Linked DNA regions of Homo sapiens: regions 1, 2 and 4 are each linked to region 3. Evidence: promoter capture Hi-C in 16 types of primary human blood cells and fetal thymus (Javierre and others, 2016). All regions are on one chromosome and are shown on one strand. Each heading gives the region's core, a stretch centred on a gene start or on the middle of the fragment in contact. The rest is flanking DNA. Distances are from core to core; before and after follow the strand shown. Region 1 holds the start of SPART (spartin). Region 2 holds the start of SUPT20H (SPT20 homolog, SAGA complex component). Region 3 holds the start of TSC22D1 (TSC22 domain family member 1). Region 4 holds the start of ALG5 (ALG5 dolichyl-phosphate beta-glucosyltransferase).

What was found. The method cuts DNA at HindIII sites, captures the fragments that hold promoters and counts their contacts. A CHiCAGO score of 5 or more calls a contact.
Region 1: the fragment with the promoter of SPART here is called in contact with the fragment with the promoter of TSC22D1 in region 3 in 2 of 17 cell types (naive B cells and activated CD4 T cells); the score reaches 10.5 in naive B cells.
Region 2: a contact is called between the fragment with the promoter of SUPT20H here and the fragment with the promoter of TSC22D1 in region 3, in 1 of 17 cell types (total CD8 T cells). The highest score is 5.2, in total CD8 T cells.
Region 4: the fragment with the promoter of ALG5 here is called in contact with the fragment with the promoter of TSC22D1 in region 3 in 2 of 17 cell types (total CD4 T cells and total CD8 T cells); the score reaches 5.5 in total CD4 T cells.

What each region holds. Positions count from the first base shown.
Region 1 is chr13:36,345,006-36,348,615 of GRCh38, forward strand. SPART (spartin) reads right to left here and starts at 1,389. Exons shown (of 9, transcript NM_015087.5): 1 at 1,220-1,389. SPART-AS1 (SPART antisense RNA 1) reads left to right here and starts at 1,426. Exons shown (of 5, transcript NR_045181.1): 1 at 1,426-1,502. RefSeq lists a silencer at 1,238-1,287. The HindIII fragment of the contact is 1,461 bases long and covers 976-2,436 here.
Region 2 is chr13:37,057,807-37,060,959 of GRCh38, forward strand. It overlaps SUPT20H (SPT20 homolog, SAGA complex component), which reads right to left and starts at 1,882. Exons shown (of 26, transcript NM_001014286.3): 1 at 1,753-1,882. RefSeq lists a silencer at 1,794-2,053. The HindIII fragment of the contact is 8,647 bases long and covers 1-3,153 here.
Region 3 is chr13:44,574,854-44,578,412 of GRCh38, forward strand. TSC22D1 (TSC22 domain family member 1) reads right to left here and starts at 1,477. Exons shown (of 3, transcript NM_183422.4): 1 at 1-1,477. The coding sequence starts at 1,221. It overlaps TSC22D1-AS1 (TSC22D1 antisense RNA 1), which reads left to right and starts at 1,043. Exons shown (of 3, transcript NR_038381.1): 1 at 1,043-1,417; 2 at 2,189-2,324; 3 at 3,249-3,559. RefSeq lists an enhancer at 950-1,189 and silencers at 1,510-2,219, 2,230-2,469, 2,740-2,939, 3,120-3,169. The HindIII fragment of the contact is 6,017 bases long and covers 1-3,559 here.
Region 4 is chr13:36,997,471-37,000,599 of GRCh38, forward strand. It overlaps ALG5 (ALG5 dolichyl-phosphate beta-glucosyltransferase), which reads right to left and starts at 1,870. Exons shown (of 10, transcript NM_013338.5): 1 at 1,765-1,870. The coding sequence starts at 1,830. RefSeq lists a silencer at 1,786-2,085 and enhancers at 2,546-2,595, 3,056-3,129. The HindIII fragment of the contact is 11,758 bases long and covers 1-3,129 here.

The sequences.
Region 1 (3,610 bases), core at 139-2,638, 8.2 Mb before region 3:
CCTAGCAATTTAGTTCGATTCCATAAACACTGAAAGAAGTAACACTCTCACTTAACAGTCAACATTACAAGCAGTCTTTAATAATACCGCATTTAACTCCTTAGAGCTAGCACAAGTTGATCTAATGCCTATTTGGCCCTTTACCAAAAAAGCGGAGGGGGCTTTGTCTAACACCTGTATACACCTCCCTCCGTAGCATCCCGCTCATTCTAGCTTCTTAGGGAAACCATAGACAACGACGTTTCAGAGAGTGCCAGAGGTGAAGCCGACCCGAAACCACATTACAGAAAGGCTTCCTGTTTCAAACAGGTCCAATAAAGCCACCAAATTAAGTCTACGATTATAAAGAACTGCGAATCAGAAAATAATTCCATATAGGTGCAGTCTTCTATTACTTTTTTCCCCACTTTCGGAAATTTCAAAGAAAAATTGCTACATTCTTAAATATGAGGCCATTATTTCAAAGGCTGTAACAACCTGGAACGCAAATTCGTTAAATTATGATACAATAAGGCCAACCTCGAGGATCCTCGGTGGACTACTAGCGCACTTCCTTACAATTAGAAAGTGAAAAACTGGGTCAGCCCTAGAGTCACGCAATAATGCTGCGTCACGAAACTGCGCATTCCAAGAGAAACTTTTCTCAGGCCCAGAATTAAGTCGGAGGGATCCGCCGCGCAGCTCAATCCCTAGGAAGCATGAAAGAATGTATTGTAAAGAGTAAAATCACGCGCAATCCATCCCAATATAACCGCAGTTGTTCGTGGGCCTTCTTGCAGAGAAAGGCTGCCCAACCTTGACGGGGCCATGGGCGCTGCGGGAGGGCAAAAGACCACAGAGATCTGCGAAGCCAAAGTAAACAACGGGGTTGGGGCGGCGAGAATGATCAATAGCGATGCTCCGAAAGGACTCCGCGATAGGAATCGAGCGGGAAGGATTCCCTCCATCCTAACAGTCCATGGGTTAAGAGGCCGAAGCTTCCCTAAATACCACACTCCCGCGAGAGAAGGGACTGAGAACAACTTCTCAAACTATTCTCTCTCGAAATCGCTCCCTTCCTCGAAAATTCCATCTCTGAGACTCGGATGAGGTCCCCACCCCCTCCACCCTTGTCCCGTGACCGTCGCCCGCTCAGCCTCCCAGCCGAGTCCGCGGGGCCTGGGGCGCCCACCCCGCCCACCCAAGGGACCGCGCAGGGGTGAACTCCCCCGCGCCCCACCTGCGCCTTCCAGACCTCGGGCGCCCCGGCGTTGCCTCGAGAGCTCCCTGCGCGGCCGCCGCGGCACGGACCAGCTCCCACTCCCTTACACTGGGCGCCGCTGCGCTCGCCGGGGGCCGGTCCCGAGGTTCCCAAGGCCTCGCGCGCGCGCTTGCCGTGGCAACCAAGACGTTCCACGACGCGCGCTCTCGAACGCTTCGCGTCACGCGGCCGCGCGGCCCCGCCCGTCGGCCTCGCTCCCGCCACAGAGCCCGCAGCACGCCGCCGCCGCAGCCTAGGTCACGTGAGTACCCACGCGCGCGTCTTGCCAGCGGATTCATCACCGGCCTGCTCAGACTAGGTTCTGCCCACTCTGACCTTCTAAATGGTACGTGGGAGGACGTCCGTCCCCTTCGGACCCAAGAGTCACCGTAACACTCTAGAAGGGGAGAAAAGGAGCGAGGGCGGCAGGCGACAGAGAACCTCGCGAGTCAGCGGCCCCGCGCAGACCCCCCCAGGCACGGTCCCCTGCGGCCACGTCGGCTGCTCGGCGCCTGCGCAATCTCTTTCTCTCCAGCGAAACCGAGGCCTCCGGAGAGCCTAGTAGAGAGTGTGGGCAGTGAGCGCTTGTAGCCGCTAGAGGGAGCGCTGGGCACAGTGCACGAGAGACAATAAAGGCTGATTATCCCCTCAATGTCTCTGCAGCCTGAGCTTTGTGACTTCTGTATCCAGAGCACAGTTAATTTCCAAAAGCCCGCCTGCACCACGTGTTTTAAGTCTTGGTGTGTGTGTAAAGTCTATATCACTATCATAAAACTGTTAGTTCCTGATTCCGGGATACAAAGAGTAAAATCAAGATGAACATACTTTACCCTTCTTGACAAGTGTTTTTAAATTAGTAAAATATTGTAGATGACAGACTCTTCAATAGGGCTGCCTTAGGGAAAAAAAAACAGAAAAAAGAAAAAGCAGTATGTACTTGCCCGGAGCATTTAGAACCAGTTTTGTTGTTGTTGTGTTTTTGTTTTGTTTTGAGACAGAGTCTTACTATGTTGCCCAGGCTGGAGTGCAGTGGCATGATCTCGGCTCACTGCAACCTCTGCTTCCCAGGTTCAAGCGACTCTCATGCCTCAGCCTCCAGAGAAGCTGGAATTACAGCTGTGCACCACCACTCCCGTCTAATTTTTGTATTTTTAGTAGAGACGGGGTTTCACCATATTGGCCAAGCTGGTCTTGAAAGCTTGACCTCAAGTTAGCCAGGCTGGTCTCGAATTCCTGACCTCAAGCGATCCACCTGCCTCAGTTTCCCAAAGTGCTGGGATTACAGGCGTGAGTCACCGCGCCTGGCCTTAGGACCAGTTAAGTGACTCCCTCAAATCTCAGAAAGGTAGCAGTCAGTCATCCCAAAAAGCAAAACCTATTAGGAATATATTAATACAGTGGTTTCAAAATGATTTTGCTCTTATACCCCCAAAGGAGTCCCCAAAGACTATGACTGTATTCTCACTTCCACGTTTTTGGATTGACCATCACAATTTCTCATCTGACTTAAATAGTTACAAAAGAAGCAACTTCTGTTTTATTATAAATTAACATTTTAAAATAAAAGTTATATAACTTTTAAATGTAGCCAGTGGAATCTAAATACCAATTTAATATCTAAAATCATCAATTTTTAAAACTACATGAACAAGCTTTTAACAGAAGGAAATTTTACATCATTTCTTTTCTTCTTGAACTCATATTTCCGTTCCATATTGTGAAATTGTATGTCAATATTTCTTTAGTCTTGCAAATATTGGCCAGGCTTGGTGGCTTATGCCTGTAGTCCCAGCTACTCCAGAGGCCGAGGCAAGAGAATCGCTTGAGCCCAGGAGTTCGAGACCAGCCTGGGCAACATGACGAAACCCGTCCCTACAAAAAAACACAAAAATTAGCTGGGCATGGTGGTACACATCTGTAGTCCCAGTTACTCCAGAGGCTGAGGCAGGAAGATCACCTGAGCTGGGGAGGCAGAGGCAGCAGTGACTGAGATTGTGCCACTGCACCCCAGCCTGGGCAATAGAGCCAGACCCTGTACCCCCTGGCCCCCACCAAAAAAAGAAAGGAAATCTTTTATTGGTCATCTACTCTACTTCTTTACATTTAAAAAGTACATACATTTAAATAGAATTTTTTAAATTTCCAACAGCCATAAAGATGAATGTGTTTAAAACATGTAGAATTTCTATACACAAAATTGTTATATATAGAAAACCCTAAAGAATTTACTACAACACTGTTAGAACTAATAAATGAGTACATCAAGGATTCAGGACAACAGGTCAACATACAGAAATCAATAGTATTTCTATACACTAGCAATGAACATTTCAAAAATGAAATTAATTCCATTCATAATATTATCAAGAA
Region 2 (3,153 bases), core at 632-3,131, 7.5 Mb before region 3:
CTACTAAAAACACAAAAATCAGCCGGGTGTGGTGGCGTACACCTGAAATCCCAGCTACTCAGGAGGCTGAGGCAAGAGAATCACTTGAACCTGGGAGGTGGAGGCTGCAGTGAGCGAAGATCGCGCCACTGCACTGCAGCCTGGACGACATAGAGAGACTCCGTCTCAAAAAAAAAAAAAAAAAAAAGTTGGCTGGGGCGGTGGCTCAGGCCTGTAAGAGGCAGAAGCGGGTGGGTCACTTGAGGTCAGGAATTCGAGACCAGCCTGACCAACAATGGTGAAACCCAGTCTCTACTAAAAAAATTAAAAATTAGCCGGGTGTGTTGGCACACACCTGTAATCCCAGCTACTCCGGAGGCTGAGGCAGGAGAATGGCTTGAACTGGGAGGCAGAGGTTGCAGTGAGCCAGGATCGCCCCATTGCACTCCAGCCTGGACAACAAGAGTGAAACTCCGTCTGAAACTTTAAAAAATGGACTAACCTCCTAATACAACACAAACACAAGCACCATACAACTGTAAATGATTTACGATCATTTACAATGAGTAAGATATTACTCCTACCCTTGAAAAGCTCGTAGGAGGTTTAAGTTGAATTTAGGTGAACGTGAAAATTTTCTGACCACTGAATTTGAAGATGAAGATACACTATGTACTTTTCGGACAAAATGTGATGACTTTAAGATTTCTTGTCACTAAATTGGGGATGGGGGCTTACTAACTTTAAATTATTTAAGTACTTCAGACAAAAACTAATAACTTCATATCTCTCACAAAGCAAACATTCTGTCTATACACAGAATTTACTAGAACCTGTGAGGAAACTGTAATCATTATCATTTCCGTTTTACAGAATAAGGCAATCAGAACAACTGACTTTCCTAACATCACAGACCTAGATCAGAATTCAGAACTCTGTGTCCAATCTTAGGTCCCTTCCAATATTACAACCTGCAAACTAATCAAACCGGCATCTGTTTTTACATTTCTTTAAAAAAAGCAAAGCAATTAAAAAAAGGACCCAATTCTGCTCAGAGACGAATATGTATTTCTTAATTTGGATCTAACTTTATAACATGGTGATCAACCCAAGTACACTGTACTCGACTCCGAAAATCCTGCTCGTCACTTTATATTTTGAGTCCTACTAGAGACTTTGATGAATTGCACTCAAGAAGACGCGGCCCCCACTACGCAGTGGCTACGGGAGATGGCTTCCAGGGCAACTGTTCTCCAAGTTCATTTCTGAGCGCCGGGTAACCATGGCCAGTAATTAATCCAATTCTAAGCGTTGCTATCAATTCTACGCGTTGCTATCAATTCTACTGATTTCCCTGATCGACCAGAGTCTTCCCATTGCAGGAGCTTTTGTCACAACTTAGGCTTTACCTGTACAACCGTCATCTCCACAGAGGAGCGACAAGCCTTTATGCAATATGGACACCAAGAAAACCGCCTTCGAAGACACGCAAGGCAAAATTCTTGCCAGTGTCCGGAAATACCCGTCTCTGGAACCCAAAAGTCAAACTAAAATTAAAAGTTCGGCTTAGCAACACCGCGAAAGGCGATGTAGGCGTCCACCTGGAGTTTAGCTGCCTCAACCTCCGCCCCGGCCTGCCGGGTCTCTGGGGACCCCGTCTTCCTCCAGCGGGCTCTGGGATGCGGCCCGCTCACCTCTGACCCTGGCCGGATCTCGCGCGTCTAAGCCACCGCGTTGCCAGTCGCTGGCCACCCACCTACCGCCACCGCCCACCTGTGCGGGTCGCCTCGCCGCTAGGCCCCAAGACGGCGCCGCCTGCTCGGCAGCAAAGCCCACCCGCCCCGTCGGCGGCTCAGTGCTGCACCCCCACCAACAGCCAGTTCCGGCGGCCGCACTTCCGATTGGCAGGCTGGGCCGAGGGGCGGGGAAGGCGGGCGGAAGGGGAGGAGCCGGGAGGGCGGGGCCGCTGCCAGGAGCCTGGAGCGCTGCGTTCCGCGCAGGACGCCGGTGAGGCCCGCAGAGACTTGCGTCCGGGCGGGAGGCGGGGCCCAGGATCTCTGCTCAATCCTGGAGTCCGAGTCCGCAAAGTGGGAGGGAGGGTGTAGATGTGAATTTGGGGAAAAACGACCCTGTTGAATTTCTAGAGTGGAAGAAACATAGAACTAGCTTTTCTCTTTGCTTAGCACATACAAATGGAAAAACAGCGACACCGTTACCTACATTTACTAGTCCAATGCGTACAACCTTCTGTAGTATATCAACTGCCAATGAGTTTATGTTTTTAAAAAAACCACCCCAGAGAAGGGTTCTAAAAATTCAGAAACCGCATTACTAGCACACATTGTAAGGTCTGTTTTGTTTTGTTTGTTCGTTTGTTTTTCAGACAGAGTCTCGCTCTGTCGCCCAGGCTGGAGTGGAGTGGAGAAATCTCAGCTAACTGCAACCTTTGCCTCCTGGGTTCAAGCGATTCTCCCTGCCTCAGTCTCCGGAGTAGCTGGGATTATAGGCGTGCACCACCACACCCGGCTAATTTTTGTATTTTTAGTAGAGACTGTTTCACTATGTTGGGCAGGCTGCTCTTGAACTCCTCATCTCAAGTGATCCACCCGCCTTGGCCTCCCAAAGTGCTGGGATTACAGGCGTGAGCCATCATGCACGGCCTGGGGTGAATCTTTTTAATGAGCATTTATTATTTGCCGTTCACAATGCCAAGGGTCATAATGAATGAAAGTGTCTTGGAATTAGAGTTAGTGGTTGCACACATTATAAGTGTATTAAAGTACACTCCAAAATAAAATCCGAACACATTAAGTGGTTACTCCCATTCCTCCCTCTCTCAGCCCCTGGCAAATGCCAATCAGCTTTCAAACTGTGGTACCTATTACGGATATTTCATATAAATGGAATGTGTGACCTTTTGGTCTGTCTTCGTAGCATAATCTTTTGCAGGTTCACCTTGTACACCTTGTTGCATGTATCGGTACTTCATGTCTCTTTATGGCTACTATTCCACTGTACCTAGATGCCACAGTTTTACCTGTCCATCCACTGATGGACATTTGGGTTGTTTCCACTTTCGGGCTATTGTGAATAGCAATGATATGAACATTTGTATACAAGTATTTGTTCGAGTCCCTGTTTTCAATTCTTTTGGGTATAAACATAGTGGAACTT
Region 3 (3,559 bases), core at 227-2,726:
GAACCTCGAAGTGTTAACTGTTGGTTGTTGCTGCTGACTTGAAACCGATCCCCCAGTCATCCCTGCAGCTGCATTAGGAACACTGCTAACAGCAGCAGAGGAAGAAATAGTACCATTGCCCATGCCACTCAAGATATTCACATTAACACCACTGGTAACTCCAGGCCCAACACTCACACCAGCAGCACTAGGAATATTGCTTGTACTTATATTAACATTACCAAGCATGCTGCTTGTCACATTAGGATTAAAACTACCCACAGCAGTAATGTTAACATTATTTACTGTACTAGTGCCAGTAACAGAATTTATACCTATTCCACCTGTAGTACTTGGAGCACGCATATTAGTCATTACAGATGCAGGTGAACCACTGGATGATACAGCAGAAGTTGGTGCAACTGGTGTGATACTGTCAGAGCTTCCAGTTGTAGAGAGTTTTCTAGATACTGGGCTTGAGGGTGGCCCACCAGTAATGGATGCACTGGCCACAGCAACATGAGATGGATGGTGGTGACCATGTTGGAGGTGGTGCCCATGATGAATCTGATGGTGGTGATGGAGGTGGTGTGGATGAGCATTCCCATTGATCACAACATTCTGTTGTGGAAGGTGAGGCAAATGAGGCTGAGGAAGGTGGGGCTGGTTGGGAGAGACTGCCCCAGGTGTCTCGGCTTCCTGGAAGTTATTTAGGGTCTCTTCTGAGGAGCTGCGTTCGGGCTCCCCTAAGTCAGTAGCCCTGGAAAGTGACACATCAAGGATCTCCGAAGAAGAGAGATCTTCCGTGTGAGATTCATCCAGATCATCATAGCTCTCAGTGTCCTCTGCTATACTGTTGTTAGAGCTGATACTAGCGGAGATCTGAGCAGGAGTAACGCTAGTTATCTGGAAGCCACTTTTCTTTTTCATTTGAGTTCCGCCTGGCGCAAGAGGCTGTGCCTGCAGCTGAGCCTGCGAAAGGAGGTTCAGGCTTTGTGGAGGCGGAGGCTGTGGTCCCGACGTAGAAGATGCTGCAGGGGGCGGCGGCTGAAGCAGCGACGGAGGCGGAAAATCCTCGGAAGATGTGGCATTACTACCGACGCCGGTACCTGCTGCATTGAGAGCAGAGGCGCTGCCACTACCGCTGCCCCTTCGAGGGAACATTGCCGGGTGCGCCATCTTCCTAGCGCTAATGTCTGCAGCGGCGGCGGCCGCGGCGGTGGACTCAGGCGGCTGGTGCATTGTGTTGGGTACCGGGGGCGCGGAGGAGACGAGTGCAATTTCCTTCTGCACCGTAATCTTTGTATTGGAGACGCCGGAGAGGAAAACGGGACCTGACGCTCCGCCTGGCGCGATTCCTCCTTCTCCTCCTCCTCAGCCAAAGGCGCCGGTCGCTCCTGCCTTCGAGAGCGAGCTTCGGAAAGGAGGATGAACGAGGGTGAACAGGGCGGCCGGGGACCCGAAGGGGGGATCCCTTCAGTCCTTCGCCATTCACTTTCCCCTCTAGCCTCACACCCCCCTTTATATTCTGCTTCACGTGGGGTGCGGGGCAGGAGGGAGGGGGAGAGCGCAGGAAGGGGAGGAAAAGCGAGAAATGCCCACCTTCTCCGGCCAACTCCGAAGCCGCCTCAGCCCCCTCCTCCCGCCGCGTCGGCGGCCGCTGCAAAGCCCTCCCGGCCGCTCTGCACGGAGGCAGCGCCAAGCAAATGTCGCCTTCCCCTCGCCACCCCCGGGGCCGCCGCCGCCGCCAGCGAGCCCCGAGCTCAGTGTCGCTCAAACCTCCCCTCCCGGCCCCGCTCGGCCCTCCCCCCGCGCCCCGCAGACCCTTTCAAACCCCCTGGGCTCGCGGCGGCTGCTCGGTGAGGAAACGCTGGCCGCGGCTGGGGCCGGGGCGACGCGGCTGCGAGCGGGGCGGCGGCGAGGCGCCCGGTACGGTGAGCCCAGCAACGAGGCGCGGGCGGGCGCGCAGAGACGCCGGGTCCTCGCGGAGCACGGCCGGGGCGCGGCGGCGGCGGTGGCAGCGGGAGCCCAGGGACCGCTCCATCACTGGCAGCCATGGAGCCCGAGCATTTTCCTCCCTCAGGGCAGGCGCCTCGACTCGGCACACGTCCTCGGGGAGGAAGGGGCCGGCACCCGAGCCTCTCCGGAGGGCGGCGGGACGTGCGCTAGGGCGGAGGGTGCGACCCTCTCTTATCCTCTTCCTCCGCAGCCGGCTCTTCCTCACCCCGCTGCTCCCGCGACCGGGCGGGAGAGGGCCGCAGGCGGCGGCGGCTCCTTTCTCCGCGGCGTTGGTGGCCAGACGGGCTGGTGCAGCGACTGCAGCCGACGCCGTTCAAAGGAACGAGGTGGGGTTGGTCGGTGTCGGCAAACGGGGCGGGGGAGTGAGTGGGTGCCGAGGGAGGGTGTCGGGCGGGGAGGGGGCTGTGGTGGTTGTTACTAGTGCTCTTCTTCGGCTCCCCCGGCTCCACCGTATCCCCCAGTCTCTCGCGGCATCGGGAGGGGAGGGACCAGCGCGGAGCGCAGGAGGAGGAGGGGCGACCGCCGGCGAGAGGAGGCGGTGGTGGCTGGGGGGAGGGGGCAGGCGGAGGAGGAGGAGGGAAGATGGCGTCTGCGCATGCGCCTCGGCGCCGCAGACATAAAGCCGGGTCTGGCGGGGCAGGAGGCGGCGGGTCTTCGGGCCTAGGCGAGCGCCAGGTCTCCCGACGGAAATTACCGAAGGCTGGCAGAGGCGCCGAAGCCGGGAGTGGTGGAGCCGGAGGGGATAGTGGGGGTGGGGAATTCCGGCCGAAGGAGCGAATCCGGGTCGGACTGCGTGATTCGGCCCGGTGGGGGCGGGCAGGGTGCGCGCCTGCCGCGCGCCCAGGTTAGGTGTGTCCGCTCTTTTCACACTCGCGGCCGGCGCGCGCGGGCACGCGGCAGAGGAGGGGGCGCGGCGCGGAAGGGCCGGCGGAGGCGGCGGGAGCGCCGGCGCTTGGTGTGCGCGCCTTGGGTGGTGTCCCCCGCCTGCGGAATGGGTAATGAGGCTTTTCTCCGCAGCAACAGCATCACGAGTTTCAGTTCCCAGGAGCCCGCCGCCGCGGCTGCTGCCGCTGCCACGACATGAGTCAGGCTTTCTTCCCTGGCGCGTGGCGGAAACCTCCTCCCCCTCGCCGCACCTGGGCTCGCCCCCGGCCCTTGCCTCCTCGGGGGATGCCCTAGGGCCGGGAGCTGTGGGGTCTATGGAAGGCCGGTGGCTCCCGGTGATAGGTGTTGTCTTTTGTGCAGTGCAGTTGCTGCCATGCGGTCCCCTCGCCCTTCCACGGGCAGGGGCGAGGCGGCCGGGCAGATGTTGCAGCTGTTTCCAGTTAACTGCCTGAGCTCCTCTGGGCTAGGCTCTTCTCTAACGAGGAGTGGTTGCAATCCATCCTTAACTGGAGGACAGAAGCAGGCCGGCCCTGTAATCGACTGACCTCAACAGGTGTCTCCAAGCAGCGACGCCTTTTTCGTTCATCGTCCTGGCTATATCCCCCATTGGTTTGACTCAGGAGGCAAGGTGGTCCGGACATGTGAGCAACACAAATGATAAGAATGCCTTTTAGGG
Region 4 (3,129 bases), core at 620-3,119, 7.6 Mb before region 3:
AAAAAAAAAAAAAAAAAAGACAAGGAAAAGAAAAAAAGGGGGAGGAGAAACTGTCAACTGATTAAGAGACTCAAGACATCAACAGAGTACAATGTGTGGCACTTGTTTGGATCCTGATTGGAACAAACAGACATATATACTGAGACATATATGAGACAAGTGAGGGCAAGTGAACTGAGGGGGCATTTGAAATCACAGAATAAATTTAAATCTGTGACCACTTTATTGTGGTATTTTAAAAAGAAGGACCTTATCTGTTAGAAATAAATGCTGAGGATTTAAAGATAAAATGTCTTCGAGTTGTTTTAAAATAATTCAGAAAGGAGGTGAGACTGTGAGTAATGGAGAGTGGATACATATGAAGACAGGATGAGGTTTTGAAAAATTATTTTTTTAATGATTTCTTGCTCTGGCATTTAAAAAACCTAAGTTTCACTAGTTGTGCAACATTTGAGTACACGAGCTCATTTCTCCAACATGTTTCCTCACCAGTAAAATAATGCTAATGATAACATATATGTCACAGTGTTAAAGATTTAATAACTCCTATTAAACCAAGTGCAACACAACATATAGTAAGTACTACAATCAATAAATGGTAGCTCTTATCACTTCAAGCTAGTGGGAACAAATACCGTCAGTACAATCCCATAAAATCTGTGCAAAAGACCCAAAGTAAGGCAGCTTCAATCTAAGAATGTGTGAATCCACTCCCCGCCCGCACCCCGCCAAAAATCAATCAATCAATCAATCAATCCTGGTTTGCTCAAAAACTTGAAAAAACAAAAAAGCCCTAAACCCTGAAATCTCTACTAGTTAGGGCAAGAGAGGACTCCTCTCTCACCCAGATACTATCAACAAAGAAGTAAGGATGCATTACATTTTATCTAAACTGTAAATTTATACAACCTCTGGAAAGATGGCAGAGTGGCCTTCCTGGCAGTGCTGTCTAGGTGGCTAATCTGAATGTCAAGGAAGCTGAAATCCTCTCCACTTACTAACTAGAGGGCAGGCTCATTCCAAGGTGTGCGGGAGAGAGTTCGCCAATTTTCTACCACTTAACAATCAGCAAGTGTTTACAATGTTTTTGTGTTTCGAGAGCAAGGGCAAAGACAATCGAGTTTGCATTCTATCGTCCTGCCTTGTTTAGGGGCAGTATATTTAGGGTGCTTAATTCTGGGACACAATGCGACCCCGGACAAGGCGCCTGAGGCCTGTCTCTCTCGCTCACCCTGCGTCCCTAGTGGGTCTCATCGATCCACGCATTTATTCCCATTTGTAACAGATGGCTGCCGTCAAGGCTCCGTCACCCCTATTTGCTTAACCACATCAGCCAAGGGAGCAGGCTAGGGAGCACACCCCTTCTGGGGGCTCGAGACCTCCCTGGGTGGAGCAGAACTGCAGCGGCTGCAGGTCCCGGAGAGTCTGGGAGAGGTCGAGGTTGACAGAGGAGGTGGGTAGGGGGCGCGGGCGCCAGGGGCGATGGAAGCGGCGATGATGCCAGGCCGGGTGGGTGCGCTCCAGTGTGAAAAAACTTACAAGTCTCTGAGCACACAAAGAGATAAGATTCCAAGGGAAAATTAAAGAACCGAAGAAAAGGAGAGTGAAACTCCAGGAAACTCCGAGGTCAGGAATTTGGGGGAATCTAGGGGAAAAGGGACTTCTCCGAGAACTGGTAGCGCGGAGGAGGGGACGCCTGAGGAGCCGCAGTCTCCAGGAGAGCGGTAAGCCCCGGCCTGCGCGGGTTCCCATCCCTGTTCTCACCAGTACGAGGGCTGCGGCCGCCAGCGCCGCGCCGAGCACCGCCAGCTGCAACAGAAGCGGAGCCATTCTCCATGCCGTGGCAGCCCGCCCAATCCCGCACCTCCACACAGGCGGAAGCGCGCCCGCGCGACCCGGCCCCGCCGCCAGAGAGGTCGCGCCCGCTGGCCGCAGCGCCCCCGCGTGGCGAGGCGGAGAAAACGCCGCTCTCGTGCCCTCGGCGCCCAGTCGGTGGAGAGGAGCGCTAGGTTCCACAGCGGGGCGCCAGGTTTATCAAGTATGCAAGACGTCTACTTAATTTGAATTTCAGATTAAAAAACTAATCATGTTTTTAACAGCCTTATTAAGATAGCCACATACCATACGACTCATCCAGTTACAGGTTTCTGGTTTATTACATTAGTTTTTATAAACTGTGGTAAAATAAAAAGTTGCCATTTTAATCATTTTAAGTTTACAATAGTGAGTGGCATTAATTACATACATACTGTGCAACCATCACCACTATCTATCTGTAAAGCCTTCCCAGCTCCCTCCAGGTTCTGGCAACAACTAATTGCATGCTCTATTTGGGGCATACTCATGCTTTAAAAAAAAAAAAACCCACAAAAAAACAAAAACAAAAAACAAAAAAACCACGCTGTGTTTATCAGACATTCAAATTTAACGTGGTATCCTGTATTTTATCTGGTAACCCCACCTAGGAGGGAGATGGCAGCCTTGAGCACGACACAGTCTACAACACAAGGTGATGCTTAGGAGCCCTCAGCTCCGGGACCTGCAGAGCAGAACGTGGTGCGGACAATGAGCGCACAGAAAGTTCAGGTTTCTCGGCCGAGCGCCGTGGCTCACGCCTGTAATCCCAGCACTTTGGGAGGACGAGGCGGGCGGATCACAAGGTCAGGAGATCGAGACCATCCTGGCTAACACGGTGAAACCCCGTCTGTACTAAAAATACAAAAAATTAGCGGGGCGCGGTGGCGGGCGTCTGTAGTTCCAGCTACTCGGGAGGCTGAGGCAGGAGAATGGCGTGAACCCGGGAGGCGGAGCTTGCAGTGAGCCGAGATCGCGCCACTGCACTCCAGCCTGGACGACAGAGCGAGACTCTGTCTCAAAAAAAAAAAAAAAAAAAGTTCAGGTTTCTCATGTGTTGGAGCACGGAGCCCTTGACCAGTGAAGAGGCAAGGCCAGGGCTGAGCCTAAGTCACAGGCAGAAAAAAGACGCAGAAACATTGGAATAACGCTCCACACGCACTGCTTGATTCTGCGCTAGAAACCCTGTTATCTCCGAACTGTTGGTGTTATTCTGAGTCACAGCACCAGCTCTTTTATAAAGAGGGAGACCCGCTCCTTCTTTAACAGCAGATT